Linked DNA regions of Homo sapiens: regions 1, 3 and 4 are each linked to region 2. The links are contacts of gene promoters, found by promoter capture Hi-C in blood cells and fetal thymus (Javierre and others, 2016). All regions are on one chromosome and are shown on one strand. Each heading gives the region's core, a stretch centred on a gene start or on the middle of the fragment in contact. The rest is flanking DNA. Distances are from core to core; before and after follow the strand shown. Region 1 overlaps MED12 (mediator complex subunit 12). Region 2 holds the start of CXCR3 (C-X-C motif chemokine receptor 3). Region 3 overlaps NONO (non-POU domain containing octamer binding). Region 4 overlaps ZMYM3 (zinc finger MYM-type containing 3).

Region 1 (2,700 bases), core at 110-2,609, 480 kb before region 2:
GATTACAGGCATCCACTACCACGCTCAGCTATTTTTTTTTGTATTTTTGCTAGAGATGGGGTTTCACCATGTTGCCAGGCTGGTCTAGAACTCCTGACCTCAAGTGATCCACCCACCTTAGCCTCCCAAAGTGCTGGGATTACAGGTGTGAGCCACCGCACCCAGCCCTATTTTTCATTTTTGTAACAGAAAAATAGCTAATGCAGAATTGAAAAATTCCTAACCATTAAGGTTATGAGACACTAAAATAGAGTATCATCTTATGCAACTTATTCCCCAGACTGGAAGTCTGGTTAGTGACACGAGGAATGAATGAAATAACCTGCTAACGTTTCTTTCAGGTCAGGGACCCAAGGTTTATACTGACCCCCTCTCCTCACCTCCCTCATGCCTTGACCTCTGACCCTCTTATCTTTGGAGGTTTTCACACCAGACACTGCAGCAGACACCCATGATAAGTACCATGACTCCAATGAGTGCCCAGGGCGTCCAGGCAGGCGTCCGTTCAACAGCCATCCTACCTGAGCAGCAGCAGCAGCAGCAACAGCAGCAACAGCAACAGCAGCAGCAGCAGCAACAGCAACAGCAGCAGCAGCAGCAGCAGTACCACATCCGGCAGCAGCAGCAGCAGCAGATCCTGCGGGTAAGGCACTGGGATTTCATCTGGGACCTGGGAGCCCAGGGAGGAAGAGAGGCACAAGTTCTTCCCACACAGTTACCGAGACTAAACAAGGCAGTGTACCAAAACACCTAGCAGAGCGGCTGGCCTCTAGTGGTGCTGGAGAAGTTTTCTACCCTCCCCCTTTTTGTTTTCTGGGGATCATAGTGGGAGAGAGTTGGACATTGTCTGCTGGGTACCCTAGATTTGGTTTCTTTCTGTGCAGCTGTCTAAAAAGGGAAGGCAGTAGACCCCGAGCTCCCACCCTGCTTCCTCATCCCCTGCCCTCAGCCCTTTAGTTCTGAGGCTTAGCTTCCTCCCTCTGCTCCTTCTGAAGTATCTTTTGTGTTCTTATAGCAGCAGCAGCAACAGCAACAGCAGCAGCAGCAGCAGCAGCAACAGCAACAGCAGCAGCAGCAACAGCAACAACAGCAACACCAGCAGCAACAGCAGCAACAGGCGGCTCCTCCCCAACCCCAGCCCCAGTCCCAGCCCCAGGTAGCTGCTGGACTACAGCCCCAGGCTCAGGGACAGCTGCCCAGGTTGGGCACGCAGCCAGTGAACTGGGTTGGGGACAGTATGGAATAGGGTAGAGGTGGGAGGCAGGGCATGGCACCCTAAAAATGGATTGGGAGGCCAGGCGCAGTGGCTCACGCCTGTAATCCCAGCACTTTGGGAGGCCAAGGCAGGTGGATCACTTGAGGTCAGGAGTTCAAGACCAGCCTGGCCAAGATGGTGAAACCCCGTCTCTACTAAAAATACAAAAAATAATAATAATAAATAAGCCGGGCATGGTGGCAGGTGCCTGTTATCTCAGCTACTCAAGAGGCTGAGGCAGAGAATTGCTTGAACTTGGGAGGCAGAGGTTGCAGTGAGCCAAGATCATGCCACTGCACTCCAGCCTGGGGGACAGAGCGAGACTCCATCTCAAAAAAAAAAACGGATTGGGAAAGGAGGTTGAAGAAGGAGAAAAGTTCGACTTCAGTCTTCCACTTCCTATTTCCACCCAGTTCCAGCGCCAGGGGCTTCAGCAGACCCAGCAGCAGCAACAGACAGCAGCTTTGGTCCGGCAACTTCAACAACAGCTCTCTAGTAAGCCTGCCTGCCTTCCCAAGGAGAACCCCATGGAATAAATTTAGGGGGCGGGGTGGGCCAAAGTAGCTGAAACGATAGCTTCAGGCCCAGGTTATGAGAGGAGGCATTCCATTCCATCCCCTTCCCTCGATACCTGAACAGCTTTCCTCGTGCATACCCACACCCCTGCCTGGTCTTCCATCCCTGATAATCTCTGGTTTTTCACAGATACCCAGCCACAGCCCAGTACCAACATATTTGGACGCTACTGAGCCACCTGGAGGAACTGCTTGTGCACTGGATGTGGCCCCACCCTTTCCTCTTAATTCCCAATCCCATTCCTGGGCTAGCACCAGTAGTGGTTGGGGCCCTCCCCTCAGGCTCCATTTTTAATAAGTTTTTAGTATTTTTGTTAATGTGAGGCATTGAGCTGTTGGGTTTTGTATATTATTTATATAGAGACCCCAGAGCTGTTGCACCCAATACACAGAGCTTCTTTGCAAAGGGAGTGTGCGAGTTCTGCATGTCTGGGAAGGGTGGTCTCTTGGGAGAATGCAGGGGGTTGGACCAACAAGTCAGAGTCTTCATTCTATTCTGATCATCTCCCCTGTTTACCTTACACTCTAAAATTTCTTTTTTTCTTTTTTTTTGAGACGGAGTCTTGCTCTGTCGCCCAGGCTGGAGTGCAGTGGCGCGATCTCGGCTCACTGCAACCTCTGCCTCCCGGGTTCCAGCGATTCTCCTCCCTCAGCCTCCCGAGCAGCTGGGATTACAGTTATGTGCCATCACGCCCGGCTAATTTTTGTGTTTTTTTTGGTAGAGACAGGGTTCCACCATGTTGGCCAGGCTTGTCTCGAACTCCTGACCTCATGATCTACCTGCCTCAGCCTCCCAAAGTGCTGGGACTACAAGCGTGAGCCACCGCGCCCGGCCTAAATTTCTTAATTCTAATTGGATTGCTACCCTCT
Region 2 (2,700 bases), core at 179-2,678:
AGGGCACCTGCCACTTTGCAGAGGCCAGAGCCAAAGACCCACTGGACGGCAGCGTCCACTGCCCAGAGCGGCAGTGTCAGCACCAGCAGCGTGTCTGCTACAGCTAGGTGGAGCAGGAAGGTGTCGGTGCTGCTCAGGGCTGTCCGCCGGCTCAGCAGCACGGCTGCCACCGCGCCGTTGCCCAGCAGCCCCAGCAGAAAGAGGAGGCTGTAGAGGGCTGGCAGGAAGGCCCGGTCGAAGTTCAGGCTGAAGTCCTGTGGGCAGGGCGGGGAGGTACAGCACGAGTCACTCTCGTTTTCTCCATAGTCATAGGAAGAGCTGAAGTTCTCCAGGAGGGCGGCAACCTCGGCGTCATTTAGCACTTGGTGGTCACTCACCTGTGAGGGCGGGAACGGGGAGGAAGGGGCTGTGTAAAGGCCTGGCAGGAACTCTTTTGTGATTGAGTCTGATTTAGTCTGTGATTTACTCTGAGCAGCTCCTCCTATAACTGTCCCCGCCAGTCTTCCAGGGCCGTACTTCCTCAACTCCATCCGCTCAGCCTGGGCTCTGGGATAGTGACTTCCCTTCTCAAAGGCTGCTTCTCTCGCATTCTTCTGCGTGATCCCATCGGCCCAGGGACCCCTGGGCAGGAAGAAGAGCGTCCCTCCAGTGCCCAGAGCCCTCTCTGCCCACTGTCCTCTCTCTCCCTGCTCTCCCTTCAGGCTTGCCTTGCGTCCTCAGTGCCCCACCCCCAACACATAGTTCAACCACCTTCCTCCCCAGCGCCTCTCCACAATCCCCTTTTCCAGTCACTAACCCTCCTCTTCCCTCCTTGGCCCTTGTCCGGGGACCCCAACTTCCTGCGCCCCCCCCCACCGTGTGGCCTCTCTACAAGTCACCACGCCCCCCAAATGCATGCAGTCTGCCCAGTCCTTCCCCCTCCCTACACTGAGGCTTGCACGGCCATTTAGCTGCCCACAAGGGGATCCCCCACTTAGCTTGAGAAGGAATCTTCTTTATCCCCTCACCCCCAGCACTATGGACCTGCAGGTCTCCCCAGTACCAATTTAGTCCAGCACGCCAAGAGTCAAAGTTCCAAGTCTCCTGAAGGGAGCCTTCGAGTCTACTTGCCCCCCGCCCCCCCCATTTTGCAGACGAGACACCGAAGCCAGAGAGGAGAGGAGAGGCACCCAGGGTCAGTGGCCAAGCTGGGTTCCCAATTCCCCAGTGCTGTTTCTGCCACAACCCATGCGGCCTCCAGCTACTCACCCAACCCTGTGGTGACCCTGGGCTGTGGGCCAGCCCTGGCATTCCCCTGATGCCCCGGGTTTTCCACTTCGAATTCTGGCCTGGCCTGGCTGGGCAGCAGCACTTACCTCAAGGACCATGGCTGGGCTGGTGCTCTGGCTGCTGGGTGGTGTGCTGCCTGCCCCTCTGCTTTGGTGCTTGTGGTTGGAAACCTGCAGTCACAGAGGAAGTGGGAGTTTCAGGCAGTTCTCAGCAGCAGCCTCTTCCAGGGAGTTACCTCTACCAGACCTCCCTAAACCTCAGGCCACAGAGTTTCCGTGACTGGGTGAAACCTCTCTGGAGGAGCTGGCTACAAGCTTGGGACCAGAAAAGCTGGGCAGAGGATGACTGGCTGGGGGCAGGTCCTTTGAGAAGAGAGGTCTGAAGAGGAAGCAATGCAGCTGAGAAGTGAAGGGCAACCCTACTGCCTGCACTGGTAGGGTCAGTGCTCCATAGATTGGAACTCATCTGTCCTGGCCTTGAGTTGATCTTTGCATGATTGTAAAGGCTGGGTAGAGAAATAAGTCTGCAGAGGAGATCCACCTTCTTAAAAATTTCAGCTAGGTGCAGTGGCTCATTCCTGTAATCCCAGCTACTGGGGAGGCTGAGGCAAGAGGATCACTTAAGGCCAAGAGTTTGAGACCAGCCTGGGCAGCATAGCGAGGCTCCATCTCTACCAAAAATAAAAAAAGCCAGCCGGGCATGGTGGCATGTGCCTGTAGTCCTAACTACTTGGAAGCCTGAGACAGGAGGATTGCTTGAGCCCGGGAGTTCAAGTCTGCCTTGAGATATAATTGTACCACTGCACTCCAGCCTGGTGACAGAGTGAGGCCCTGTCTCTTAAAAAGGGAATTAAAATATTTTTTTAAAAAGCCGTTACACTAAATCTAGCTTTTTACCACCACCTCTCCCTGCTAATCAGTGGGGAAAAAGAAAGGGAACTACCAGTAATGAACTTGCTATGTGATAGACATTGCTTTAGGTGCTTTCTCCGACACTGCCTTATTTCAACCACACAACTCACTTGTGACGTGCGGGGTTATCTGCATGGATGATTCAGAAAGGGGACAGGCCTTCGCCAGACACGGCAATTAAAGGTGGGCGTGAGGATTGATCCCACGGCTGTCTGATTCTCCTTTTCCTACTCATGAACACTGTCTTCAGTTTCTTTTAAGTGAATAAGCTATGATATATTCATGCAGTTAAAAACAAATGAACTAAAGCTACACATTTGAACATGGATGCATCTAGAAAAGCCAACGATCACATGGTAGAAGAAGCAAGTTACAGAATGCCATGTATAGTTTGATGCCACTTACATAAACTCTAAAAACCACCACAAAATCAATACCATGTTGTTTTGGATAACACTGTTGGTTCTCGAGGTTTAAAACAGGGACAGGAGATACCACAAATTCATAAAAGCAGTTGCTT
Region 3 (2,747 bases), core at 248-2,747, 320 kb before region 2:
AAAAATTAGCCAAACATGGTGGCGTGTGCCTGTATTCCCAGCTACTTGGGAGGCTGAGGCAGGAGAATCGCTTGAACCCAGGAGGCAGAGGTTGCAGCGAGCTGAGATCACGCCACTGCACTCCAGCCTGGGCAACAGAGTGAAACTGCCTCAAAAAAATAAATAAAAGACTGGGCAAAACAGCGGCTCACGCCTGTAATCCCAGCAATTTGGGAGGCCGAGGCGGGCAGATCATGAGTTGAGGAGATCAAGACCATCCTGGCCAACATGCTGAAAGCCCGTCTCTACTAAAAATACAAATAAATAAAATAAAAATACCAAAATTAGCGCACATGTAGTCCCAGCAACTTGGGAGGCTGAGGCAGGAGAATCACTTGAACCTGGAAGGCAGAGGTTGCAGTGAGCCGAGATTGTGCCATTGCACTCCAGCCTGGCGATAGAGCAAGACTCTGTCTCAAAAAAAAAAAAAAAAAAAAGACTTTTGGCCCAGGCGGGACAGATCACCAGGTCAGGAGATCGAGACCATCCTGGCTAACACGGTGAAACCCCGTCTCTACTAAAAAATACAACAAATTAGCCGGGTGTGGTGGCGGGCGCCTGTTGTCCCAGCTACTCTGGAGGCTGAGGCAGGAGAATGGCGTGAACCTGGGAGGTGGAGCTTGCAGTGAGCCGAGATTGCGCCACTGCACTCCAGCCTGGGCAAGAGAACAAGACTCCGTCTCCAAAAAAAAAGACTTTTGGTATTAGCCTGGGCATGGTGGCTCATGCCTGTAATACCAACACTTCAGGAGGCTGAGGCGGGTGAATCACGAGGTCCTGAGTTTGAGACCAGCCTGGCCAAGGTGGTGAAACCCCGTCTCTACTAAAAATACAAAAAGTAGCTGGACGCGGTGGTGGGCGCCTGTGATCCCAGCTACTCGGGAGGCTGAGGCAGGAGAATCACTTGAACCCGGGAGGCAGAGGTTGCAGTGAGCCGACATTGCACCACTGCACTCTAGCCTGGGCGACAGAGGAAGACTCCGTTTCCAAAAAAAAAGACTTTTGGTACTAAGCTTTCTCGTATGATTTTTCTGTAATCTTATATTAATAGACGTGGGATGACGATTATGAAAAATAACTTTTTAGTCATTCGGTAGGTTGTCATGTAGTCAGTGTTAAGTCTCTCTTTACTTTGAAGATTTAGAGTTCTGAAAAGTTGATTTGTGCCTGCAGTATCTCTTAGTGTTTACCACAAGTCATTTCTCAGAGTGTCTGTAGATGTTTAGGCTGTACTTAAGTACTGCACCTACCTACTTGGAATATCTTTTTGAGACTGTATTCAGAGATCTAAGTCCTGATTTCGTCCTGTCAACCCCAGATTTTCTTTTTTCTTTTTCTTTTCTTTTTTTTTTTTTTTTTGAGACAGTCTCACTCTGTAGCCCGGGCTAGAGTGGTGCAGTGGCACAATCTCGGCTCATTTCAACCTCTGTCTCCCGGGTCCAAGTGATTCTCCTGCCTCAGCCTCCCAAGTAGCTGGGATTACAGACGTCCGTAGAGTCAGGGTTTCACCATGTTGGCCAGGCTTGTCTTGAACTCCTGACCTCATGATTCACCCGCCTCGTCCTCCCAAAGTGCTGGGATTACAGGCGTGAGCCACCACCCCCAGCCCAACCCCAAATTTTTTATAATGTCATTAGGTATAAAAACTTCAGAAGCCTCCAATCCTGAGCCCTAGCTAATTCATTGTGCCAGTGACATGTGTAGAGAAGAAGCCTGGTGGGGTATGATTTGATTAACACTGAACTTTGTTCTTTCTTCCAGATTTCCTCGTCCTGTGACTGTGGAGCCCATGGACCAGTTAGATGATGAAGAGGGACTTCCAGAGAAGCTGGTTATAAAAAACCAGCAATTTCACAAGTATGCAGTCTTGATAGATTTCCCTATTAGGTGTTTCCTTCTTAAGAAAGCTTATAAAGGGATATGTAAAAGAGGCAGGTCTTTGCTGCACATGTTCACTGGCAGCCATTATCTTGGTCCTCACAAGGAATGCAATTCTTAGCTGGGGTAATTCTGGACAAAGTTAGTAACCTAGGAACCTTGCCTATAGGGAACGAGAGCAGCCACCCAGATTTGCACAGCCTGGCTCCTTTGAGTATGAATATGCCATGCGCTGGAAGGCACTCATTGAGATGGAGAAGCAGCAGCAGGACCAAGTGGACCGCAACATCAAGGAGGCTCGTGAGAAGCTGGAGATGGAGATGGAAGCTGCACGCCATGAGCACCAGGTCATGCTAATGAGACAGGGTGAGTCTAGGCCTGTAAGTCTTAAAGCTGAAAGGACAAAATGACATTTTTAAATGGGTTTCTTTGTATCAATTAACAGAAGGGCCTACATCTCTGCTTTTATACTTAGTTTGCGTTGATTTTGGTAGATAAATAGGCTTGGAGATGTGGCAGAGATACTGGATTCTGTGGAGAAGGAAATGATAGGTATAACTTCATTTTGGAATCTGGACACCACAGGTGGTTCCAAAGGAATTAGATCCTCTTTGCTTTCTGGATCTTTATTTGAAGAAAGTCATTAGATCTATATGAAGACAATGAGGAATATTCTTAGTCTGTTGTTTTTTTAGATTTGATGAGGCGCCAAGAAGAACTTCGGAGGATGGAAGAGCTGCACAACCAAGAGGTGCAAAAACGAAAGCAACTGGAGCTCAGGTAACTTTTCTCGAACACTTTTTCCCTAACAACTCTAAAAGGTAATGTCT
Region 4 (2,700 bases), core at 194-2,693, 370 kb before region 2:
AAGAAAGAAGAAATCAATTTCTTAAGATCTCAACCCTGCAGCCCTCCTGCCCCACCCCTGCTACTTGCCCACTTGACACTAGATGAGCCAAAGGAACCAGTAAAGCTATACCAAAAAGCATGCTCAGAGGCACAGAAACGCAAAACACAGCAATGTGAACTACTGAACCGTAAACATGTTGAACATGGTAAAATTTTATGTTTTTTTTCAGCTTAAAAATTAAAAAAAAAAAAAAAAAAAAAAAAGCATGACTCAGAAGTCTAAAAGAGTGCACCTGTCCTGGTGTCTCTGGCACTGCTCCCTGTGAGAACCTTCCGTCTTAGAATCACAATGAACACTTTTCAGGGTCATGCTCAGGGACACAAGGGACACTCCCTTCCTGATGGCACAAATGCTACCATACTCAGTGGGCATGGCTCCAATCTTACTCACTCTTAGGGAAGTCTGCCTCCAAGTCTTGCCCAGGCTCATCCAAGACATTGGCCATCTTGACTGCCATGGCCAGGACATCATCTCGAGCAGGCCCAAACAGGTCACAGTCTTCCAGGAGTCCCTCTGCACTCTGGTTGCTCACAAGATCTGGGAAGCAGAGAAGTTGGCTCAGTGGTTACAAGCTCCTGCTAGCACCCTCACAAGCTTTCAGGGACTGATCCCAACTATCCTCCCATTCTACTAGGCACCAAGATCACCAATACCACCCCCTCGGGCAGAGACATGCTGGTAGCACCCTGTCTCCCTCGTCGCCACCATCTATGGCATACCACAAAGGTCAGATGAGGCCTTGTCTAACTCCTCAGCCTCTGCAATCATTTCTGCCATAGCCAGGATGTCGGCCTCCAAGGGGTTGGAAGGGATCTTCACCTTCAGCTCCTCAATGGTCTCTACAATCTTGTCTGTGCTCTCCAAGGTAGTGGGCAAGAACATGGGCACAGGCACCTGGAGGCACGAATCCCAACTAAATGCCAAGAACCACACCAGCAGTTGGGGGGAAGTTGGGGGGACAGATGATGAGTGAAGGGGGACAGTTGATGAGAGTAAGGGGAAAGGAGGACCCAGCCAGGAAGGGCAGGGAAACTCACCGGGATAGGCATCGAGAAAGGCACCGGGACTTTCTGGCAGTACAGATGCATAGGCACTGGCACGAAGATGGGCACTGGGATGGGCAGCACGATCACCTGTGGCTTCCACTCTTCTGTGGATAAGAAAGGGGTCTTCTCAGAGACCCTGCTGGACTGGTCACATCTGACCCACCAAAAGCTCTAACATGCTCAGTGTCACAAAACTGCCCTTGAATCAAAGGCTGAAAGACACCTCTATGATTCTAGGACAACCATATGAATGAGGCTTCAGCTACCTAAGAAATCCCCTTGTCCAGCTCACGGACATAGGGCTGGCAGGCCTAGGACTCTGGAATACAGCCTGTGGCATCGAGGTACCCTGGCTCACCTGTTTGACTTCCTTTGGACTTCATCTCCACCTTGCAGGAGACGCCCCGATTCTGCATCAGTGGCTTACACATGGCAGCCTTGTTTTTGCGGGGTGTTGCTGGGGGTGGTGGGGGTGGAGGGGTGGGAGCAGTGGGAGCTGATCGGGTCTTCACAGGGATCTGCAAAGACAGAGGAACATTTGTGCCACCAACCGCCGTACCCTCCTCTGAGATTATCCTCCCCCTTGGCTTTTGCCCCGACCTTGCCCAAATTCCCATTTTCCTCTGGGGTCCTCACTGTGTTGCTGTTCTCCACTTTGGTTTGAGAGGGTGTCTGGGGTTTTGACTCAGGAGACTGACCTGTAGATCAAAACAAATGAATGCTCTCATCCAAGGGACTAGCTCTCCATTTTCCTTACCCCTGTTCCAGGAGAGCTTCATTAACAGGTACACCAAATACAGATGGGAACTTCTAGGATTTGACCCCCTTGCCATCCCAGATCTAGTCTCCTCTATGCCCCAGCAATAGCAGCCTAAAAGATTATTTGTTCCTGGAGAATGAAACATTACATTTTCCCCCAAAACCCACATTTGAGACCTTCCACTTAGATAGCCTGAAGAGTCTGTTATCCCTGGAGTTGTGGAGGGGCAGGGGTAACATTCTAGAAATAGCAGTCTTCAGTCTCACTAAATGTAGAGTTTATGCTGAGATTTCCTTATCTCAGAAACGTAACCATAACCCCTATATGCTCCATCCTACCAGGAAAGGCACCCACTCCCTAACAATATATATTTCATAGACAATCAGTAGATGCTAACTCCAAGAAGCTTTAAATAAGACTCCCCCGGTACCTGCAGGGTTCGGAAGCTAAAAGAGAATACAGTTCACAGTACTAGCACCCTATCTGGCCAGGGGTGAGCTGAACGCAAGAGGAAGGAGAAAGGGGCTAGGCTTAGGATTAGGAGAGTCCAGGCTCCCTCTAACAGAGTGTACCCCCTGCCTGGGACTCACTGTTCAGGAGGCTCTCGGGCCCACTCTGGGTATCCAGGTTGGGTTGGTTCTGCTGGCTATAGAAACGCAGAAGACACTGCTGGTTGCAGAAATGACGGATCTGCCCACGCCAGTGGATGGTCTCCAGCAGCTTCCCCTGGCGCTTACACGCATGGCACCGGGCAGCCTGAGGATGTCAAAAGGATGGTCAGACCTGCCTCCCTAAAATGCGTTGGGCCCTTTCTTTCCCCCGGGATAAGCCATGCTCCTCCCCTTGGAGATC

Evidence for each region. Contacts are between HindIII fragments. The CHiCAGO score rates a contact against its expected background, and 5 or more counts as called.
Region 1: a contact is called between a fragment that was not itself captured here and the fragment with the promoter of CXCR3 in region 2, in 1 of 17 cell types (naive CD8 T cells). The highest score is 5.9, in naive CD8 T cells.
Region 3: a contact is called between a fragment that was not itself captured here and the fragment with the promoter of CXCR3 in region 2, in 1 of 17 cell types (total B cells). The highest score is 5.2, in total B cells.
Region 4: a fragment that was not itself captured here is called in contact with the fragment with the promoter of CXCR3 in region 2 in 1 of 17 cell types (non-activated CD4 T cells); the score reaches 5.3 in non-activated CD4 T cells.

What each region holds. Positions count from the first base shown.
Region 1 is chrX:71,140,215-71,142,914 of GRCh38, forward strand. MED12 (mediator complex subunit 12) reads left to right here. Exons shown (of 45, transcript NM_005120.3): 42 at 421-643; 43 at 1,016-1,156; 44 at 1,669-1,750; 45 at 1,961-2,236. The coding sequence ends at 2,004. LOC124905197 (a long non-coding RNA gene) reads right to left here. Exons shown (of 4, transcript XR_007068262.1): 4 at 2,332-2,700. Among named protein-coding and RNA genes, the nearest start is that of NLGN3, 3.3 kb to the right of the region's middle. The HindIII fragment of the contact is 5,236 bases long and covers 1-2,700 here.
Region 2 is chrX:71,617,083-71,619,782 of GRCh38, forward strand. CXCR3 (C-X-C motif chemokine receptor 3) reads right to left here and starts at 1,429. Exons shown (of 2, transcript NM_001504.2): 1 at 1,356-1,429; 2 at 1-377. The coding sequence starts at 1,367. The HindIII fragment of the contact is 3,713 bases long and covers 1-1,581 here.
Region 3 is chrX:71,294,765-71,297,511 of GRCh38, forward strand. NONO (non-POU domain containing octamer binding) reads left to right here. Exons shown (of 12, transcript NM_007363.5): 6 at 1,801-1,896; 7 at 2,087-2,283; 8 at 2,613-2,697. Among named protein-coding and RNA genes, the nearest start is that of ITGB1BP2, 5.6 kb to the right of the region's middle. The HindIII fragment of the contact is 894 bases long and covers 1,051-1,944 here.
Region 4 is chrX:71,244,907-71,247,606 of GRCh38, forward strand. ZMYM3 (zinc finger MYM-type containing 3) reads right to left here. Exons shown (of 25, transcript NM_201599.3): 13 at 2,439-2,604; 14 at 1,689-1,786; 15 at 1,447-1,606; 16 at 1,080-1,192; 17 at 762-936; 18 at 433-579. Among named protein-coding and RNA genes, the nearest start is that of ZMYM3, 7.9 kb to the right of the region's middle. The HindIII fragment of the contact is 1,618 bases long and covers 635-2,252 here.